2 separate regions of the Homo sapiens genome follow, and region 2 is linked to region 1. The links are contacts of gene promoters, found by promoter capture Hi-C in human tissues and cell types (Jung and others, 2019). All regions are on one chromosome and are shown on one strand. The core of a region is centred on a gene start or on the middle of the fragment in contact, and the rest is flanking DNA. Distances in the headings are between cores, read along the strand shown. Region 1 holds the start of CCZ1 (CCZ1 vacuolar protein trafficking and biogenesis associated). Region 2 holds the start of ZNF853 (zinc finger protein 853).

Evidence for each region. Contacts are between HindIII fragments. The study calls those that stand out against the background at their distance.
Region 2: the fragment with the promoter of ZNF853 here is called in contact with the fragment with the promoter of CCZ1 in region 1 in 1 of the 25 tissues and cell types used here (lymphoblastoid cells).

What each region holds. Positions count from the first base shown.
Region 1 is chr7:5,895,741-5,899,982 of GRCh38, reverse strand. It overlaps CCZ1 (CCZ1 vacuolar protein trafficking and biogenesis associated), which reads right to left and starts at 1,250. Exons shown (of 15, transcript NM_015622.6): 1 at 1,064-1,250. The coding sequence starts at 1,183. RefSeq lists an enhancer at 2,033-2,112. The HindIII fragment of the contact is 16,541 bases long and covers 1-4,242 here.
Region 2 is chr7:6,612,534-6,617,017 of GRCh38, reverse strand. ZNF853 (zinc finger protein 853) reads right to left here and starts at 1,408. Exons shown (of 3, transcript NM_017560.3): 1 at 832-1,408. The coding sequence starts at 843. RefSeq lists enhancers at 1,771-2,524, 2,525-3,278. The HindIII fragment of the contact is 23,550 bases long and covers 1-4,484 here.

The sequences.
Region 1 (4,242 bases), core at 1-2,500:
AGGCAATTTCGATAGTCAGTAAGTCACATCTGAAGTAGCACCAGGTAATTTTTATGAAAACTCAAGTCTCTAGGTTTCTTTCCTAGTGCTAATTTGTAATACACCAATGCTTGTAAGAAATAAAGGTGTGCCCATCTGCAGACACATAGCTCCCTGAAAATTAAATCCAGTCAGTTCCCAGCCATTTGAACTGACAAGTTGCTTTTTTTTCTTTTTCTGGAGATGGGGTCTGTGCTGCCCAGGCTGTAGTGCAGTGGCGCTATTACAGCTCACCTGCAGCCTCAATCACTTGGGCTCAAGCGATCCTCTGGCCTCAGCCTCCTGAGTAACTGGAAATACAGGTGCGTGCCACCACGCCCGGCTCACTTTTCAATTTTTTTTTTTTTTGTAGAGTTGGGGGTCTTGCTATGTTGCCCAGGCTGGTCTGGAACCCCTGGCCTCAAGCAATCCTCCCATCTCGGCCTCCTAAAGTGCTGGGATTACAGGCGTGAGTCACAGCGCCCAGCCTGGACAGTCTTTAACAGAAGTCTGACTTGCTGGAAACAAAACACAGCTCCGGACATCCTTTGAGAAAGTCGCCGTCCCCACCTCAGAAAAACCACACACACACACACACACACACACACACACACACACACACACACACACCCCCCTCCCGAAATTAATTTATTTCCTCATTTGGGCGAAAACTATTACAGGGACCTCCAGGCTTGCATCATTTGAAGGCTAGCGTCTGCCACCCTGGTTCCACGCTTCTAGTTGGGGACTACCCACTTAACAAAGCCAAGTTCAATTTTAATTTCCCAGAACTGACGCAAAGCAAAGCGCAAAGAGCCTCAACCTGGGGTGTGGAGTGATATAGACCCGACGGGGCTTTATTCCATCGACCTAGGACCTGAAGCGGTCCCTGCCTGCTGTCAGGTCCCCGCCGCAGCCCCCTGCCCGGACTCGCACCTGGCACAATGCAGGCTAGGTCAGTGCCCCTCGAGGTGGGCAGAACCACAGGGCCACCTTCCCGGGGAACACCGGCGCCGCCCGCCCGCGCGCCGCCCCCTCCGCATACCTGTCCTTCGCGCGGCCCGAAGCGCGGGTTGTAGATGAAGAAACTCAGCAGCGCCGGCGGGAACTGCTTCTCCTGGGCCGCCCAGGGCCCGCTCCCGGCCCCGGCCGCCGCTGCAGCCATCCCGCCCCGGCCCCCACCTCGGGAGCCTCCCACGGCCCGCCCAGAGACAGCAGCCACCGGCTAAAACACCGCACTTCCGCCTCCGTCGCCACCGCCCCGGAAGCGCTCGCCGCAGGCCCGGAAAAAGAATCCGCCTCGCAGCGTCCTCTTCAGGCACCCCCGGGTGGCTGTTTCCTGGCCGAGTTTGTGTTTTCCTGGCTCGCGGAGTTTTCTCCTGGCTACAGGCGAGGGCTGCGCGTTTCAGGAAAAACCGAGCGGGCACTGTTTTTTTTTTGTTGTTGTTTTTTCTGATAGGGTCTCAGTTTGTCATCCAGGCTGGAGTGTAGTGGCGCGATCTCAGCTCACTGCAGCCTCAACGTCCGAGACTCAAGCAATCCCCCTGCCTCAGCCTCCCAAGTAGCTAGGATTACAGGCGCGCGCCACCAAGGCCAGTTTTATTTTTTTGTAGAGGTGGGGTCTGTGTTGCCCAGGCTGCTCTCGAACTCCTGGCCTCAAATGGTCTCCCACTTCGGCCTCCCAAAGTGCTCCGATTACAGGCGTGAGACACCACCGCCCAGCCTGTTGTTGTTTTGGTGGTATTGTTTTAAATTTAATTTAGAGACAAGATCTCGCTTTGTCACCCAGGTTGCAGTGCAGTGGTGCCATCATAGCTCACTGCAGCCTCAACTCCTGGGCTCAAGGGATCTTCCCACCTCAGCCTGAGGAGTAGCTGAGACCACAGGCATGCACTACCATGCCCAGATAATTAAAAAATAGATAGATAGATAGTAGAGACAGGGTCTCACTTTGTTGCCCCGGCTGCTCTCTAACTCTTGGCATCAGGGGATCCTCCTGCCTCTGCTACTGGATGGAAGGTCTTGACCGTGGATTGCCCAGGTTCTTGGCTTGTTGAACACAGAACTGAACAAAATGCAATGCACAAAGTAACAAAAGAACAAAGCAACGAAAAGAAACAAAAGAAAAAACTGAAGTAAGGAAGAAACAGATTTATTGAAGCGAAAGTACAACTCACAGAGCAGGAGCAAGCTAGAGCAAACAGCTCAAGAGCCCCCATTAGGATTTTTATTAAGCTGGAAGAATTAGGTAACGCCCCTAGGTGCCCGTTAGAGGTCTCCGATTGGTTACACCCTCTGAAGGATTGGCCTGTGACCAATCAGAGGCTGAAGTGGAGACGCGCACCCGCCCCCCCCCCCCCCCCCGTCAATCAGAGGCTGTCACCCTCCCCCCCGCCCCCCCCCCCGTCGTCCATCAATCAGCCTCTGATTGAGGGAATGAACACGTGGCCTCTATGCTGCCTAATCTTGCCTAGAACTGGCTGCACCTGCTGTTCTTTTGTTTATGCCTTAACCCTTGGTTACCCTCATTCCCTATTCTGCCTCACCTGCCCTCCCAAAGTGCTGGGATTACAGATGTGAGCCACCCACACCAGGTCCATTGTTTTGTTTTTAGTTTATTTAAAAAGTATTTTATTCTAAAACAGCACTTTGCTCTGTTGCCCAGGCTGGATTGCAGTGGCCAGATCAGACGTCACTGCAGCCTGGAACTCCTGGGCTCAAGTGATCCTCCCACCTCAGCCTCCCGAATAGCTGGGACCACAGGTGCATGCCACCATGGCTGGCTAATTTTTAAATTTTTCGTAGAGCTGGGGTCTCACTATGTTAACCCAGGCTGGTCTCGAACTCCTGGACTCAAGTGATCCACTGGCCTTGGGCTCTCCAAGTGCTGGGATTGTAGGCATAAGCCCCTGTGCCATGGCAGTTTTTTTTGTAGAAGGAAATGTAGAGACACAAAGGAAGCCTCATTTAGAAATAAACAAGGCTAGCCACGGTGGCTCATAGCTGTAATCCCAGCACTTTGGGAGGCCAAGGTGGGTGGATCACTTGAGGCCCGGAGTTCCAGACCAGCCCCGTCTCTACTAAAATACAAAAAACTAGCCAGGCGTGGTGGCACATGCCTGTGGTTCCAGCTACTTGGGAGGCTTGAGGCAGAAGAATTACTTGAACCCAGTAGGTGGAGGTTGCAGTGAGCCAAGATTGCACCACTACACTCCAGCCTGGGCAACAGATCCAGACCCTGTCTCAACAAAAAAAAAAAAAAAAGAAAGAAAGAAAGAAGAAAAGAAAGAAAAGAAACACACTTAAGGGCAGATGTGCATTCCGTTTGGCCCATTAACATCATCTACAGAGTCCTTGTTTGAGAGACCTCAAGTGACCACTGGATCACCCACACCTACAAAGTTTGCCCCTTTCCCCCATTCCTTCAGCGCAGGTCTGGAGGCAGATGGGGCACCGTGTGTGCCACGGGAGCAATATCAGAGGTGGCAGACTCCCCAGAGTGGCTGTTCCTGGACCTTGCTGCCTGGGATTCCCTTGCCTTTGAGGTGTGTGGGTTGTGGCATAGTTGGGATGGCTTGTTACAGTTATGTGGATTCAAGCCTTGGCAGCATATGGTTTGACCAAGCTCAAGAAGACTTTGGTTTAGATTGCCTTATCTGTCACATATTAAGTTTGGAAGCAGAACCACTTCCCTTATCCAGCCTGGCAGAATAGACCACTTTTAGGGAAGTGATGAGTTGGAATTTGGACTGGAGACAGATCTGGGTACATATCCACTTTTGCCACTCACCGACTGCACCAATCTCCTTGCACCAAAGAAGAGATGGAGACTCTCTTGTCTGTATCTCTTATTTGGAAAATGGCTAATAGTAAATTCCTGCCAAGTGAGAGTTTCACTTGAAGAGTTAAATGGGACTATGAATGTGCATCAGGTGCCAGCACCTCATCATTATTTCATAAACGATTGCTACTGCTCCTTGCTATTGACTTTCCCAATTAGCTTGCTCTAGTGCATGAAATTATTCCATGAGAAATACATGTTTTGGCTGGGTGTGGTGGCTCATGCCTGTAATCCCAGCACTTTGGGAGGCCGAGGCTGGCAGATCACTTGAGGTCAGGAGTTTGAGGCCCAACATGGTGAAACATCGTCTCTACTAAAAAATAAAAATAAATAGCCATGCGTGGTGGCAGGTGCCTGTAGTCCCAGCTACTCGGGAGACCGAG
Region 2 (4,484 bases), core at 159-2,658, 720 kb before region 1:
GCGGCCTGGAGGCTCAGGACTGGGGAGTTGGCAGACAGCACCAGAGGCTGTCACCTGCATAGAGGCAGGACTGCCTCTCCTGACTTTTCACAGCGGGATGGAGAGTGGGGTAGCCCCACAGAGACACAACTGTGGGTATCAGCCCTTCACAAGGGAGGAAAGCTAGAGTCACCAAAGGGACATTCAGGGCGGGGAGCTCTGGGGCCAAAGAGAGACTGTCCATCAACATCCTCCCTGCCTCCTTCAATTCTTTTTTTATTAAATACTTTTTTTTTTTTTTCTTGATACGGATTCTCACTCTGTCACCCAGGCTGGAGTGCAGTGGTGCGATCTGGACTCACTGCAACCTCCGTCTCCCCAGTTCAAGCGATTCTCCTGCCTCCGCCTCCTGAGTAGCTGGGGCTACAGGTGCGTGCCATCACCCCCAGCTAATTTTTATGTTTTTTTATATTGTAGATGATGTTGCCCAAGGCTGGTCTCGAACTCCTGGCCTCAGGCGATCCTCCTGCCTCGGCCTCCTAAAGTGTTGGGATTATAGGAGTGAGCCACTGCGCCTGGCGCCCTTCCATTCTATTGCCTTCCTGGCCTGCTCTGAGAAGGCCGCCAGCAGGCCACGTGTGTCAGCTGCCACCCCAGCTCCCGGGCAAGGCAGGTGTCCAGAGCACTGTCACCCACGGCCTGGCCCTGTGCCCAGGCGCTCCTGAGAGTCCACCCTGGCCCGTGCAGAGCTGGCCCCTCTCCCCTAAACAGGCCGACTCGTGCCATCCAGTCCAAACTCTCTCAAGGGACGCGTCCCCGGTTGCCCAGCGCCAACGACCCCCTGGGCCTCACCTGGTGGAGCATTTCCTGCTCCCGGGCAGCCTCTGCGCTAGGGAGGTGTGGTCAGCAGAGGCTGCGAGGTGAAGGCCACGGCGTGCAGCCGGCTCCTTCCGGAGGCGCCTCCATCCAGAAAGAGCCAGGAGGCGCAGGGCCACCCCGGGGGCTTTCTGGGCACTCCGGAGGGTCCACGCCCTCTGGGCTGCCGAGGTCGCCCTGGGCCAAGGGAAGGGGCTGAGAGGAGCGGCCGAGCAGAAGTTGGTGGAGACTCTCCGGCGGGGGCTGGGGCGGGAGGCAGGGCCCCGAATCCCGCGCGGGGCTCAGGGCCGGCCCCCCGGGACCATCGCGGGCAGCGGGATCCAGGCCGGCGCCCGGGGTCGGCACCACGGGGTGGCCCCGCCTGGGGTCGGCGGCGGCCAGGCGACGCGGGTCCTCGGGGGCTACAGGTGCCCGGAGCCTGCGGGCGGCCTGGGCCGGGCCGCGCGGGGGCCGGGGCGGGGGCGGGGCGGGCGCCGCGGCAAGGCCGGGTCCCCCTGGGCTCGCCCGCCCGCCCGGGAGTGCGTCCGTGCGGGCCGCTGGCCGGGCCGGGGGCGGGGGCGCGGGGGCCGGCACAGGAAGTCCCCCCGGCATCCGCATCCTGTCCCCCGCCCCTGCCCGCCCGCCGCGCCCCCGCGCCCCGGCCCCCGCCGCCGCCGCCGCCGTCGCCGCCGCCGCTCTAGGCAGCCGCAGCTCGGTGGGCTTAACCATTCCCGGCCCGGCCACTCACCCGGCCCGGGGGACACGATGCGGCGGCCCCTGGGGCGTCCCGGGCTGGCCGGTGCCGAGCGCAGCGCGCGCTGTGCCGCATCCCTGCTGCGCGTGTCCTCGCGCCACGGGGTTGGCGACTGTCACTGCCTGGGTGTCTGGGTGGGGGGTACCCAACCCGATCCCTGCCACCCCCTAGAGGGCAGGCGTGGCCTCGGGGCGCCCCTGCCGCGGTGCAAATTGTGGCTAATTAGCACACAATTCGATGGCACTCGGAGAGGGAGTAGGCGCCATCCGGGCCCGGCCCGAGCGGGCCCTGGAGAGGCCACCCCGGTCCGCACCGTGGAGCCCTCCTCCTAGACCCCGGGGCTGGGGAGGGCAGGCCAGTAGGGAGTGTGTGCCTCCCTCCCCCGATCAGGGACTGTGACCTGCATAGATCAAATGAGGCCACCGTGGAGAACTGGCAGAGCTGGAATCCTCCCGCCCAGCGCCCCTGCGGCCTTTCGCTGACCACAAGGCTGGTGGTCAGGCCTCCCACCTCCCTCACCCTCTCCTCTCCTCTTTCCCTACTTGGCAAGTGGATTCCTGCCTGGGTCAGGGGTCTTCTCCAAGGGAGGCCTTCCCTAACCCCGTCTTAATGTTGCACCACCTAACTTTCCTGTTCTCGGTGCACAAACCTCTCTAACCTGGAGAATTCAAATTCAAATTGGGATGCTCAAATTCTTTAGAAAAAACCAAAGATCTGGGGGCAGGGCATGGTACTTCACGCCTGTAAACCCAGCATTTCGGGAGGATCACTTGAGGCTGGTAGTTTGAGACCAGCCTAGCCAACATAGCAAGACCCCATCTCTACAAAAGAGGTTTTTAAAAAATTAGCTGGGCTACTGAAAAGTAGCCTGTAATCCCAACTACTTTGGAGGCCAAGGTGGGTGGACCACTTGAGCCCGGGAGGAGGTCGAGGCTGCAGTGAACTATGATCGCGCCACTGCACCCCAGCCTGGGTGATAGAGTGAGACCCTGTCTCCATCTAAAAACAAGCAAACATGCTGGGCGCGGTGGCTCACGCCTATAATCCCAGCACTTTGGGAGGCCGAGGCGGGCAGATCACCTGAGGTCTGGAGTTGGAGACCAGCCTGGCCAACATGGAGAAACTCCATCTCTACTAAAGATACAAAATTGGCCGGGCATGGTGGCACATGCCTGTAACGCCAGCTACTCTGGAGGCTGAGGCAGGAGAATCGCTTGAATCTGGGAGGTGCTCCTGGGGTGCAGCAGGAATGCCCCCCTGGTGGGGGACAAGAGCCCTCAGGGTTCACAGCCCCCTCCCTTCCTCCTGTCCCTGGGCTCACACTGCTGTGGCACAGGTGGCCACCTTGTCCTGTTTTTGGAATCTCTCTGGCCCCCACAGGCACTGGAGTTTCAGGCTTCCTTTCTGGCCCTTGCCTGAAAAGCCTGCACTCTGGTGGCTTCTGCCCCAGGCTAGAAAAAGTGCAGCAAGAGCCTGGCTTTGGAGACAGAGTCATCTAGGGTCATGGGACCTTTTGCAGCCAGGTAACTGCAGGCAAATGACTGCCTTGCGTCTGTGAAGTGGAGATGACAGCCTGCTAGGCAGGATAAGGACGAGCAGATAAGGTGAGGAGGATATGGGCAGGAGTTTAAGATCAGAGCAGGTGTGCACCTGCCTCTTCTAGCCTCCTGCAAACCCTCATGCCCTGAGGAGCCCCTCCCTCCTCAGGTCTTTATCCTCTCCCTCCACTGGCTTCTTTCTGACAGGATTTACACATCCTCAGGGCTCTCCCATCTTAAAAACATGCTACCCGGGCCAGGCGCAGTGGCTTATGCTTGTAATCCCAGCACTTTGGGAGGCCAAGGCAGGAGAATCGTGAGAGCCCTGGCTTTGGAGGCTGCAGTGAGGCATGATCATGCCACTGCACTCCAGCCTTGGCGACAGAGCAAGACTGTCTGCTGGCCGGGCACGGTGGCTCACGCCTGTAATCCTAGCATTTTGGGAGGCTAAGGTGGGCAGATCATGAGGTCAAGAGATAGAGACCATCCTTGCCGACATGGTGAAACCCTGTCTCTAATAAAAATACAAAAAAAAATATATATATATATATATATATATAGTTTGGCGTGGTGGCGCATGCTGTAGTCCCAGCTACTCAGGAGGCTGAGGCAGGAAAATCACTTGAACCCAGGAGGCAGAGGTTGCAGTGAGCCGAGATCACGCCACTGCACTCCAGCCTGGCGACAGTGTGAGACTCCGTCTCAAAAAAAAAAAAAAAAAAAAGACTGTCTGTAAAACATAAAAGAGCTACCCACTTCTCTCTCCTGCCCTTGACAGCCAAACTTCCTTTGCCATATCCCCATCTGCCCATCCCTCCTTCTCCTCTCTGACCTGGCCTCACTGCAGCCAGACAACTCCCCGTGACGTCACCAGCAATGTCCACGTCACTAAACCCTCATCATATTTGGCCTCTGGGCAGCACTGGACACTTCTGCCATGCTGTCCAGGGAGAAACACCTCGGTTCACCTTCCTCTTGGCCCCTTCTCTGACACCTTGCAGGCTCTGCTCCCCTCCCCTAGGCTCGTTGCTCACCTGTGCCACCAGAGAGGGGTCCCACCCAGTCCACACACAGTTCCTCCCACTGAGCTTTTTGTGGTTTGTTTTTGAGACAGGGTCTCACTCCCATTGCCCAGGCTAGAGTGCAGTGGCACAATCACAGCTCACTGCAGCCTCAACTTCCCAGGCTCAGGTGATCCTCCCATCTCAGCCTCCCAAGTAGCTAGGACTACAGGGATGCACCACCACACCAGGCTAATTTTTTTTGTTGAGACGAGGTCTCCCTATGTTGCCCAGCCTTGTCTTGAACTCCTGGCCTCAAGCAATCCTCCCACCCCAGCCTCCCAAAGTGCTAGGATT